Linked DNA regions of Homo sapiens: region 1 is linked to region 2. The links are contacts of gene promoters, found by promoter capture Hi-C in blood cells and fetal thymus (Javierre and others, 2016). All regions are on one chromosome and are shown on one strand. The core of a region is centred on a gene start or on the middle of the fragment in contact, and the rest is flanking DNA. Distances in the headings are between cores, read along the strand shown. Region 1 overlaps RPA1 (replication protein A1). Region 2 holds the start of MIR22HG (MIR22 host gene).

What was found. The method cuts DNA at HindIII sites, captures the fragments that hold promoters and counts their contacts. A CHiCAGO score of 5 or more calls a contact.
Region 1: a fragment that was not itself captured here is called in contact with the fragment with the promoter of MIR22HG in region 2 in 3 of 17 cell types (M0 macrophages, M1 macrophages and megakaryocytes); the score reaches 7.3 in M0 macrophages.

The regions. Positions count from the first base shown.
Region 1 is chr17:1,847,099-1,853,636 of GRCh38, reverse strand. RPA1 (replication protein A1) reads right to left here. Exons shown (of 17, transcript NM_002945.5): 5 at 448-536. Among named protein-coding and RNA genes, the nearest start is that of RPA1, 20 kb to the right of the region's middle. The HindIII fragment of the contact is 1,550 bases long and covers 3,806-5,355 here.
Region 2 is chr17:1,712,134-1,718,673 of GRCh38, reverse strand. It overlaps MIR22HG (MIR22 host gene), which reads left to right and starts at 2,464. Exons shown (of 3, transcript NR_028505.2): 1 at 2,464-2,544; 2 at 4,660-4,971; 3 at 6,275-6,540. It overlaps MIR22 (microRNA 22), which reads left to right and starts at 4,687; the gene lies at 4,687-4,771. It also overlaps a transcript of WDR81 not described here. RefSeq lists an enhancer at 1,676-2,317. The HindIII fragment of the contact is 4,707 bases long and covers 13-4,719 here.

The sequences.
Region 1 (6,538 bases), core at 3,331-5,830, 130 kb before region 2:
ATCTCGGCTCACTGAAACCTCTGTCTCCTGGGTTCAAGCGATTTCCCTGCCTCAGCCTTCTGAGTAGCTAGGATTACAGGCGCAGGCCTCTATGCCTAGCTACTTTTTGTATTTTTAGTAGAGACGGAGTTTTGCCATGCTGGCCAGACTGGTCTCGAACTCCTGACGTCAAGTGATCTACCTGCTTTGGCCTCCCAAAGTGCTGGGATTACAGGTGTGAGCCACCGTGCACCCAACCCGTTTGTCCATTGCTTTCTAATTGTGCCCTTTCTTCATACATCATTTCTTTAGAACTGAAAAAGCCTGACAGAATAGCCTGGTTCCTAGACCTCAGAATCACTATCATTTTATTAACACTAACAAGTCAAACTGAATCCAAAAGGTAGAACTCCGAATATATAAAGAGGTATTCATTTGAGTGCTACAACCTACGCCAAAGCATTTTACCTTCATTATAGGGCACTGGATTGCCAATCTTCACTCCAACTGCTTCAGCTGACTTCAAAACTTCTAATTCCATCAAGATAACTACTCTCCTGCAAAAGCAGACAAACAGAAACAGGTTAGAAAAACAAATTCTGTTCAAATGATAAGCTACTCAAAATGCTTTCCCCGATGATCATTGTGATGAACTATTTTCCATTTGTCATCTGTTTACATAAATATTTCTCTTCATCTTTCGCCGCATCATTATCAAGTGATTGCAGGGTTTTCAGTTCCCAACTAGTTCCTTAATTAAAATGCAGTGTTCTCGCTACGCACCGTATCTTCAAGGAGCCAACCGACATGGTAAGAATTTAGATTACTAAACACAAGAATATATGGCATAAAAAGAGATGAACTGTTTTCAGAAACACATACTTATCTCAACAATGACTTTTTCCCAGTGAAAACCAATTATGACAATAGATATTTTAAAAAATGTAATAATGACCCATTTTTAAGAACTTACAGTTCTTTTGCTTTTTAACTCTAATTAAAACGTTGTGATAACTTCCCAATGACCTTAGGCCACAAAGAAAAACCTGGGCCATGGCTTGCCTGGCCTGGCCTTGCTAACCCCCCTCCCGTGCCGCTGCCTGCCCTCTGCCCTCTGCCCTCTGGCCTTCCTGTTTTCTTTCAGTTCCACCACATGGGACAGTCCCTCTTGCCACAAGGCCTTTGTCCGTGATGCTCTGAGATTGCGGTGTTGTGTTCCTTCTCATTTTGCCTCATCTAATACTCATTTTTTAGCTCTCGTCTCAAACATCACTTCAAGAGACACTTCCTTAATCTCTAGTTGAGATCAGGTTGCTTTGTTCTAGTCTTTCCTACAGCCTTGATTTCTTTCCTTCAGAACACTCTGCTCCGTCTTAATTATATGTTCATTAGTGATTATTTTATTATTCTCTCTCGCTCCTACTAGACTGTACTGTCAATAAAGACAGGTATCCCTCAGTGCTTAATGAAGCAAATGGCCCACAGTTGTTGCTCAATACATACTTGATGAGCATATCACAATGTCTGCATTTTAAAAAGAAGGAATTTAATGGGAACATGACTGGAGGCAGGGAGACCAAGAGAAGAGACAAAATGACAGAGGCCTGAATGAGGTTAGTGGCAAGGGAGCTGAAGAAACAGGCCTAGGGCAATATTTAAGCAATAATCTACCCAAATTCATCACGTTTTAGACTTTAAATGGTCTGACTGCTGTTTTTGGATTTTTACATACAATCAATCGTTTGTTTTAAATGGTCTGACTGCTATAATTTGGATTTTTACATACAATCAATCAGTGTGTGCTACCCTTATCAGGTTTCACATCAGAGTTTCAATAAGATAAGCCTGAAATTATCTGTTCCTGAAAATGGTATCTAGATTCCCTGTAATAACTATCTGATACTTAGTGGCAGATATTTAACTACTTTCCAAATTATACAAATCACTCCAGAACATATAAAAATAGAAGGCCTATGAATCATTTAGTATGACTCTAATACTAAAACCTAAGACAAAACACACACACAAAACCAAAACTAATTTCATCCTGCAATATCCCATAAATCCTAAATAAAATATCAGCAAGATGAACCTAGCAGCATATTAAAAGAATACACTAATATCAACTTACAGAGAATACAGATGACAAGGACACATTAAGTGACTTTACAGGGATGCAATCAGCCAAATCCAGACTGGGGGAAACTGCACAAGGTGAAGGATAAATGACCTGGTTTCTTCAGCAAATAAACAGTAAAGGAGAAAAAAGGCAGACGCAGAGCCTACAGATTCAGAGAGACTTAACAGACCATCAATCTACCGTCACAGGAAACTTATTTTGGATTCTGATTCATATAGATTGTGTGGGCACACACACACACACGCACACGCACATACACACGCACATATACAACAAGATGGAAATACAACACGGACGGTATTTTTTTAGGTGTGAAATGGGATAGTGTCTTTTTAAGAGTTTTTATCTTTCAAAAATACATACTAAAATATTTATGGATGAAATAATATGATGTCTGAGATTTACCTCAAAATTACAGAGGATAGTGGACGTTGAAAGGATGGAGCTAGAGCAAAACTGGACAACAGATGACAATTTGGAGCTGAATGATGGGCTATATGGGGATTCATCAGACTACTGTGTATTCTGTCTATGTTTGTAGATGTTTAAAGTTTTCCAGAAAAAAGATTTTTAAAAATAAAAAGAGAAAATTAGCAAGCTAAGATAATTCTTATTTTTTTTTTTGAGAGAGAGAGTCTCACTCTGTCACCCAGGCTGGAGCGCAGTGGCACAATCTCAGCTCACTGCAACCTCCGCCTCCCAGGTTCAAGCAATTTTCCTGCCTCGGCCTCTTGAGTAGCTGGGATTACAGGCACCCGCCACCACACCTAATTTTTGTATTTTTAGTAGAGACAGGGTTTCACCATGTTGGCCAGGCTGGTCTCGAACTCCCCATCTCAGGTGATCCACCTGCCTCAGCCTCCCAAAGTGCTGGGATTACAAGCATGAGCCACCAGCACAGCCTAGGATTTTTTTTTAAGGCAGGATTTATTGCAAGAATGAAACAAGAGTTGAATTATTAGGCAATCCTTTTTTTTTTTTGAGACGGAGTCTTGCTCTGTCACCCAGGCTAGAGTACAGTGGGGCAATCTCAACTCACTGCAACCTCCGCCTCCTGGTTTCAAGTGATTCTCTTGCCTCAGCCTCCCGAGTAGCTGGGACTATTAGGTGTGTGCCTCCATGCCTGGCTAATTTTTGTATTTTCAGTAGAGATGGTGTTTCACCATGTTGGCCAGCCAGGCTGGTCTTGAACTCCCCACCTCAGGTGATCCACCTGCATTGGCCTCCCAAGGTGCTGGGATTACAGGCGTGAGCCACCAGCCTAGCCCTAGGATTATTTTTTTAAGGCAGGATTTATCGCAAGAATGAAACAAGAGTTGAATATTAGGTAATCTTTTTTTTTTTTTGAGATGGAGTCTTGCCCTGTCGCCCAGGCTAGAGTGCAGTGGGGCGATCTCAACTCACTGCAACCTCCATCTCCCGGGTTCAAGTGATTCTCCTGCCTCAGTCCCCCGAGTAGCTGGGACTATAGGCATGTGCCACCACGCCTGGCTAATTTTTGTATTTTCAGTAGAGACAGGGTTTCACCATGTTGGCCAGGCTGGTCTCGAACTCCTGACCTCAAGTGATCCACCCACCTCGGCCTCCTAAAGTGTTGAGATTACAGGCATGAGCCACCACGTCCAGCCTAGATAATCTATTAAAATAGTTCATTAAATATGATCATATCAAGATGTAGTAAAAGCTTTGAAAGAATTTACGAGCCATTTCTGATGAAATCCTGAGGACTTAAAAAATAAAACCTGCACCTGGTAAACTGCGCGTTTTTCCACGATCAACACTGCATTGAACAGTGAAACCAAAAGCATTTCCATGAAAATCAGGCAACTGCTGACATTACCATCGTCCAACAAAGTTTTGACAGCGCTGTCAATACAGTAAAATTAAAAAAAAAAAAAACAAAATGACAAATATGAGAATAAGGAATGCCGGGTGCGGTGGCTCACGCCTGTAATCCCAGCACTTTGGGAGGCCGAGGTGGGCAGATCATGAGGTCAGGAGATCGAGATCATCCTGGCTAACACAGTGAAACCCCGTCTATACTAAAAATACAAAAAATTAGCCGGGCGTGGCGGTGGGCACCTGTAGTCCCAGCTACTGGGGAGGCTGAGGCAGGAGAATGGCGTGAACCCGGGAGGCGGAGCTTGCAGTGAGCCGAGATCGCACCACTGCACTCCAGCCTGAGAGACAGAGCGAGACTCCGTCTCAAAAAAAAAAAAAAAAAAAAAGAACAGCCAACAAAAATTTGGAGGGAAAAAGTAAAGAAAGACCTTGTCTATAAACTACTAAATAGTCTACAGAGAAGTTTAACTGAAACTCTATGGAGTGTAATTTGAAGTACTGGCAAGAACGGGGAGAAACTCCACACTCACGCGCTGTTGGCAGGGAGGTAAACTGGTGTACACACTTTGAACAATAGCCTCAAAAAGTTAACCATAAAATGACCATTTAGCCTAGCAATTCCTTTCCTAGACAGATTATCTATAAAAGAAATGGAAACGTCTGTCCACAAAAAACTTGTACACAAATGTTCATAGAATTATTAGTAATAGCAAGCAGGCAGAAATAATCCGAATGCCCATCAACTAACGAATAGATACACAAAATGTGATGTATCTAGACAACAGAGTATTATTCTGCCATAAAAAGGAACAGGCTGGGTGCGGTGGCTCACACCTGTAATCCTAGGACTTTGGGAGGCCGAGGTGGGTGGATCACAAGGTCAGGAGTTTAAGGCCAGCCTGGCCAAGATGGTGAAACCCCGTCTCTACTAAAAATACAAAAAAATTAGCCAGGCATGGTGGTGCACATCTGTAATCCCAGCTACCCAGGAGGCTGAGGCAGAGAATTGCTTGAACTCGGGAGGCAGAGGTTGTAGTGAGCCGAGATGGCACCATTGCACTCCAGCCTGGGCAAGAAAAACTTGTCACCCAGGATGGAGTACAATGGCGCAATCTTGACTCACTGCAACTTCTGCCTCCCGGGTTGAAGCAATTCTCCTGCCTCAGCCTCCCGAGTAGCTGGGATTACAGGCATGTGCCACCATGCCCGGCTGATTTTTGTATTTTTAGTAGAGACGGGTTTCACCATGTTGACCAGGCTGGTCTCAAACTCCTGACCTCAGGTGATCTGCCTGCCTCAGCCTCCCAAAGTGCTGGGATTACAGGCATGAGCCACCGTGCCTGGCTGATAATTATTCTTTAAAATATGACTAATACACAGTATGTTGACAAGCTTAATGGCAAACACTTCTTTTTAAATAACATGTTTATTGAGATATCATTCACGTACCATAATGAACTCACCCTTCCAGAGTGGATAATCCTATGGGTTTTGCATTTTGCAGTTATGCAAGCATCACCACTACCTCACTTTAGAACACTGTTGTCATCAGCAAAAGAAACCATGTGTACAATGACAGTCACTCCACACTCTACCACCCCTGAGAACCAGTCATTGAATTTGTTTCTATGGATTTGTCTATTCAGAGATACGCTTTTTTTTTTTGGAGATGGGGTCTTGCTCTGTAACCGAGGCTGGAGTCTCGGCTCACTGCAACCTCCGCCTCTTGGGTTCAAGCGATTCTCCTGCCTCAGCCTCCTGAGTAGCTGAGATTACAGGCCGCACCCGCCACCACGCCCAGCTAATTTGTGTATTTTTAGTAGAGATGGGGTTTCACCATGTTGGCCAGGCTGGTTTCGATCTCCTGTCCTTGTGATCTGCCCCGCCTCAGCCTCTCAAAGTGCTGGGATTACAGGCCTGAGCCACTGTGCCTGGCCAATAGATACTCTTATATAACATTTATGAGTATAATTAGTATACTTTCCACAGATGTCCGTTGACCCCACAATACAAATTCTAATGATCTGTTATTCAGAAATAAAAGCATAAACACGTTAAGATAAAGTACAAGGATGACTGCTCAAGTCCTGTTTAGAATAAACCTGAATGATCACCAAAAAAGCAAGGAGTAAATAAACCCAGCCGCACACACAGGCTCTCAGCAGAGGTACAAAAGAATATGAGGCAAGCCTGCAAGCTGAGGCAGTGCCATCAGGCAAAGCCCAGGGGAGTGGAGCTGTCTCCGTGACTGGAGAGAGTGGGCTGTGAAGTTTCCCAGCAAGGACTGCACTCAATCCCAGCAACACTTCCACCCTCTCCCACAACCATGCCCTGGAGGACAGAAAAGTGGCTGCAAAACACCACTTAAGCGCTCCAAGATAGCCTGGAGTGGAAGATAAAAGGTCCCAAGTGAGAAGGTTGGCAACATGTACCTAGCCTAGACTATGTCAGAGCAAATACCAAGTCTGGACAGGACTGTCCACATTAAGCATGAACAAAATAAAAAGGGATGATGACAAAGCAACAATACAATACACAACAATGCATAAAAGGGAAAGCAACAGGGAGGCAAAGCCG
Region 2 (6,540 bases), core at 1,215-3,714:
TCACACTAAGCTTGTCCTGGAGTGACCCTGACTCCCAACTCAGGATCGAGGCAAAATATTTACCTGGGTCTTCCCAGCACTTCCCAGCCAAAGACGCTGGCTTCTGGGGCCAACGTGTCCCACCTGCAGTCCTTGAGCAATTAGGACCCTTGCTATGGGGGGTGGCCATGTGGGCAGGGCACCGCCAAAAGCCAAAAATGGAGCGGCCCAGGGACCAGGTGGCAGCTGAGAACAGTTAGAAGTGGAGTGAATGCGGCCGGGCGCGGTGGCTCACACGCCTATAATCCTAGCACTTTGGGAGACCGAGGCGGGTGGATCACCTGAGGTGAGGAGTTCGAGACCAGCCTGGCCCACATGGCAAAACACCATCTCTACTAAAAATACAAAAATTAGCTGGGAGTGGTAGCGCACGCCTGTAATCCCAGCTACTCAGGAGGCTGAAGGAGGAGAATCGCTTGAACCCGGGAGGTGGAGGTTGCAGTGAGCCGAGATCGCGCCACTGCACTCCAGCCTGGGCAACAGAGCGAGACTCTGTCTCAAAAACAGAAAAAAAAAAAATAAATAAGGAGGTGGAGTAAATGGGCAAAAGCAGGAGGATCCCATCAGCAGACACCTGTCCATGGAGGAATAGGGCAACTTGAGTAGGAAGTAGGGGGCGGCTGGCCTGAGAAGCAGCGTTCTGAACCCCAAGTTTGCTTCCCATAGCCATTCCTCCTCCCCAGGCTTGGTCCTCGGGTTCACTGTACCCTCCCCAGCGCCAGCCACCATTCTGGACCTCCCCAGTACTGGCCTTCCCCTAGACCAGGGAGGGTCTAGACCACAGAGTCTGAATTTACTGTGCTAACAGGAAATACCTCTCTTTCCAAGCCCAGAGCCTCTGAAGAACTAAGGAGCAGAGCGGGGTTGGGGTTGGGGGAGACAGTCTTGGAGTGATGGGGGAAAAGAAAGATCATACAATCACATCCCCCACGTTCTTTCCTTCACCACCCATGGGAGTGGATAAGGGGATGGAGGAGGGTAAGCAAGGAGGAGGATGTGGTAACAGCTGATTCGTCCCCAGAGGTCACACTTTCCAACAATCAGCTGTTACTGGGGCGCAAGGCAGGAAGTTTCCTTAAAGGCGCAATGTCCTGAACGCAGGCTCAGAATTTTGGAGCTCCAAGTGAACCTTATCAATTACCTGATGGAGTGCGTATTTAACAGAAGGAAGGATCTCACCCTCCAGCCTCATCATTCCTGCTTAGTTACCCTCAGCCCCTATTTGGAGCTGAAGGAAAAGGCATGGATTTCAGTCCACATGTTCCTCTTTGGGGGACTTGCGGGGATTGATAAGGTAGGGCAGGTCTCCGGCTTGCCCCTTTAAAAACGCCGACCAGCAGCTTTTGCCAAGTCACTGGGTTCATTTCACTTTTTGCCCATCCCCCGCTCATCTAGACTCTGATTGGCCCCTGGGGAAGGAGCAGCCTGCTCATTGGTCTCCACCTTCGAATCTCTTCCCTAAGTAGGCCTGAGTCAGTGAAGAGCTTTGGAGGGCGGGACTGAATGGGGGTTAATCAGAGGATGCGATTGCTGACCCTTTGCACTTTGGCATGGCCCATCCCCTAATTTCTGACCAGAAGCCCTCCCTCTACCCTAAGGTGAGGACTGTGCTATGAATCTTTTGTTAGAAAGCTACCTCTTGGGAGGCTCTGGGGGCTCTTCTGGGACTGGGAAGAGACATCCAAGAAAAAAAGCCTCCTGTGGTTAGGAAGAGCCCCCAGGAGGAGTGGGCTGGGCGAGGCGAGCACCCTCCCTCCTCCAAAAACCCTGGAGAGCTCTCCAACGGCAGTCTCTGCTGCCCTGGGGGCTGACGCTCTGCCCACTCCTGCTCCTTGGTCCGCTCCACCTTTCCTTAAAGAGCTATAGCGTCCCGCAGAGGCCGGCGAGTCAGTTTGGGGAATGTCTAAAAGAAGCACTCACGACTCCAACAAGGAGGGGCTGTCGCCCTTTAAGGACTTCCCCGGGCTGGATTCCGAGCTCAGTTTAAAAATGCCAACTCACAGAGCGCGCTGGGTTCTGGGAACGACGGTGTCAGGCTGAGAACTACACGGACCAGCATGCATTGCAAACGCAGACGCCGTGGCTTTCGCCTGCTCTTTAGGACTCTCGTTTGACGTAGCGCTTTTCTAAGCGGGTCGCTGACGCGGAGGGCTGGGCCACACCTGTCCGTCTATTGGCCGGCTCCTCAGTGGGTGGGCGTGGCTTCGTGCAATTCCGCCCGGCAAAAGGGTGGCCTCCTTGCCAATCAGAGCCAGGGCGCCCGGAGAGGCGGGACCAGGGCGAGGCCCCGTCGGCCCCCGGGTGGGCGGGGCCACGTTGCCCAGCAGTGGGCGGTGATTGGCCCCGGGCCGTGCATTCGCAGCTCGTGCGTCACGACGCCGCCAGCTGATCGGAGCCTGGAGCCGGTGTGTGCTGGGTGCCGAGAAGAGACAGCGCCGCCGGCCGTGGGGAGCGGACGCAGTGATTTGCTCCCCCTCGTGCAGCAACCCCCACACCCAGCACCAGGTGGGTGTGAGCTGGCGACCCGGTCACGCAGCGGGGAGCCGCGGTAACGGGATGGAGGGTGAAAGTGGGGTCCGGGCGGCCACACCCAGCCCTTCCGGGAGGAGAAGGGGCGGCGGGGGCAGGGGCGCCTCGGGGAGAGGGGCCTGGACTGGCCGGGTTAGTGTGTCAGGAGCTACGAGGAAAGAGTCTGGGACGGGAGTCGTGGCGGAAGGGCTGGCGGAGTGGCGGGGGGCGGGGGGAGAGCCGAGGGGCCGGAGGGCCGGGGGCGGCTCACCCGGCGGCCCCCGGTCTGAGGATACAGGGGCCGGCCATCTAGCCTGGGGAGGGTCTGGACCCCCCGAGCGGGCGGCGAGGAGGTGCTTTGCCTCTGCCGGCGTTCACTGGGTCAGGGCCAGTTCAGCGCCCTGGCAGGGAAGGGGTCGCTGGGCGGGCCGGCCCCTCCTCTCGTTCTCTCCAGGGGATGTTATGTAAGGGGGGAGGGGAGAGGAGTAGGGGGCGGCGGTGCCGGGGCCTTATGCAACCCAAAGGTTAGGGTTTCACCGTGGTTGGGCGGGGGGAAGAGGGCAAGAGGAGGGCCTGGAAACTCTAACCCCCGCTCCCCAGACTAACTGGCCGTCTTGGGCCGAGAGAAGGTCACCTCTGCACCTCCCCCCAGCCTGTCCGATTGTGAGGCCCCTAGCCCAGGCCTGGCCCTGACTGCCTGGGAAGCCGGCTGGCTGGGTGGGGCGCCTGGGTTAGTCATCACTGGGCTGCCTCTCTCCCCACCTCTCGGCCAACTCTTGGCCCCTCCCCATGGCCTCCGGCGAGGCTGTCACCCCCACCTCCCTCCGGCCCTGGTTCCAGCCTCCAACTCCTTTGGCCTGTCATCCTGGCTGTCAGATTGGGCTAGGAGCTGTCAGAGTGCCAGAGGGTTGATGGAGCAGCTGGTCAGAGGGTCAGTGCCCTGGGCCCACCCCGCCCTGCAGCCAAGGGCACCTGCTTGGCACAGACTCTCAGCAGCTGCTGAGTCCTCTGGGTTGAACAGAGCTATCTCAGACAGAGGAAGGTCGGACGGAGTTGGACTGGTCACCCAGGGGAAGGAAGATACACAAAGTTCATGCCTCCCAAGAGGGTTTCGGAATTTGAACCGCACCCCGTATCCCCCAATCTTTCTTACCCTCTGAGTATAGAAATTCCAAGGCAAGACCGCCTTGGCCCCTCAGCCTGGCGTGGGCCATGCCCTTGGACTGAGTGTCAGCACGGACCCGCCCTCCCCAGCTCACATCCCCCGAGCCTGCCACGCCCCCAGCCCCCTCCCTGGGCCATGCTGCAGGGCCCGGCTTTTCCTGCTGATTCATGCGTTGGAACTGTGGGGGCGGGGCTTGGAACTTGGAACAAAGTTCAGACATGGAGGGGCCGGCAGACAGCCTGGAATTCATACCAGATGTACCCGGAATGCGCAAGCGGAATGCCTGGCATCTGAGAGTCCTGGGGAAGCTGCCCAGCCACCCTGCCCATACCTCCCTCCCCTCCAGCCTGTGGTCCCCTGCCCGCCCCTCACAGCCCCGGCCACCCTGCCGATACCTCCCTCCTCTCCAGCCTGTGGTCCCCTGTCCGCCCCTCACAGCCCCGGGGGCCTCTGCTGACCTTCTTTCAAACGCTAGGCCTCCTCCCTTCCTCACTCTTCCCCAATCCAGGCCCCCAGAACTCTCCTTCCAGCTGAACTCCCTGGGAACAAGTCAGTTGGGCTGATCACTGAACTCACATTTCTGGACCTGAGGTACCACACTTCTAGTACCTGCGTGCTGGTGGGGTGTGTCCAGGGTCCCGGGCCCCACCCTGTCTGAATGCTGAGGAGGCTGGGCCCCCAGGGGCCGCTAGGGCAGGGGAGGGTGAGAGCAGGACTGGGTTTCTCTAGACTCCAGTTCTGGAAAGAAGAGCAAGGGAAGTCTGTTTACAGCCACCTCTTGCTGCTCAGCGAGGTTAACAGCTTCCGCGGGCCCAGATCAGAGCTGCAGCCCTGCATTAGAATCTCAGAGGTCTACTGGGGCAGGACCCTGATGGCCAGCGAGTGGGTCAGCGTTGCAGCAACATGCCCTGCTCAGATCTTTCCCATTTTCCCTCCCTTTCCCTTAGGAGCCTGTTCCTCTCACGCCCTCACCTGGCTGAGCCGCAGTAGTTCTTCAGTGGCAAGCTTTATGTCCTGACCCAGCTAAAGCTGCCAGTTGAAGAACTGTTGCCCTCTGCCCCTGGCTTCGAGGAGGAGGAGGAGCTGCTTTCCCCATCATCTGGAAGGTGACAGAAATGGGCTGGGAAGGTCCGAACAGCAGGGTGGATGATACGTTTTGGGCAAGTTGGAGAGCCTTTGCCCAGATTGGCCCAGCAAGGAGCGGTTTTAGATTAGAGACACTGGCTGGATTGAGGAGTAGAAGGCTCAAACAACCCAAGGTTAGTTGGTCTTTGTGTGACAGTGGGAAGAAGTGGAGAGAACACTCTGTCTCCCCGACTTCCTTCTTGACCCTCCTTCCGTATCTTTCATTCTTCCCCACTGGCCTTTCCAGATGAGGTCCAAAAGTAAGCTCACTCTTCAGGGAAAAGTGATACTAAACCCAGGCGTGAGGAGTCATCCTTCTGCTCTTACTTTTCCCTGCATTTCCTTAGGCTGGCCCAGACTCTAGATTCCTGGGCACTTACCTGTATCTGAGACCCTTAGACCTCCTGTCTCAGTTTCTCCACCTGTGAGATGGGCAGTCACACAGATGAGTGTGCATGAGGGAATCAGAAGCCCATCTGGGTTGACTCAGAACCCGGGCTCTCCCCCTGCTGTGGGTGGAAACAAAACACCTTTTCACAGAAGCTGTTGTCCCTCCCCCATCCCTGATACCATCACCCAGAAGCTGGGTGGGGAATGGGAAGCTGGAGGAGGGGGTTAGAGTTAGACCAATGCGAGGAGCTAGTAAGAGCTCGCCTCTCCGTGACTTCCCCCCATGCAAGGGTGGCCCAAGGCTTCCCCTGATATCCAAAGCAGGACAGCAGCCCCTTGGTGGGATTCTAACTGCTGCTACTCTGTTTCTTTCCTCACTTTGCTTTCCAAGGTGGTATGTGATCCCCAGCTCAGGCCTGTGCAGACAGGAAATTCTCCCCTGCAGCAAGTAGGGGAGGTGGGTTGTGGGATGTGACCTCCTTCCAGATATCAGGCAGTGAGTGTAAACCTGCCACCTCCAGCCCTGATCCATTCTCACCTAGCGGCTACAGGAAGCTGTGTCTGTTCGATTTGGTGGGAGGAGATGTGCAGGGAGCTGTATCTTGTCCTCCGCTTGTGAAAAACTCAAGGATGTGGAGAAGAGTAGACCGTGGAACCCTGCTCTTCTGCAGCCAAGCTGAGGGGCAGGATGCGTGTGGGACAGTGGTAGAGAAGCAGGGGATAGACTCATAGGCTGCAACAAAGGTGACTCTGTCCCTGGACACTGCCTCCGTACTTTCTCCTTGCTTCACTGGCCACAGCATCTCCCTCCAGCCCTCGCTATGTGCCTCTGCCATCTTCACCCATCATGGAGCAGAGGTGAGGAGAGGCAGCCTGGGAATATGGAGACCAGTGAAGGACCAGGCCTGGAGAGCACAGGGTCCTACCTGGGCATCCAGCAGAGGAGCCCCTAAAGGCCAGGAGCACCCCAAGAGGAGGGAGGGCAGCCAGCCTCCATTGACGGCGAGCCTCCAGCCCTCTCCTACTTTGATCACCATTTCTCTCCAGGCTTTCTGCCTCCGAGATGTGGCACCATAGTGCGGTGCCCTGTGGCTTCACCGCCCTACTTCCACCTCCGCCCAGCCTGTAATGTTTATATAAGCAGCCTCAAGGACCAAGAACCATCTGCGAAAGGACACACACAGGAAATTCATAAAAGAAATCTGAATGGATAAAACCATGAAAAAAAGTATGCTTCATTAGTAATTAAAGAAAGGCAAATAGAGCTGGAAGCATTTTTCCCTTAGCAAACCATAACAGAAAAAAATAAGACC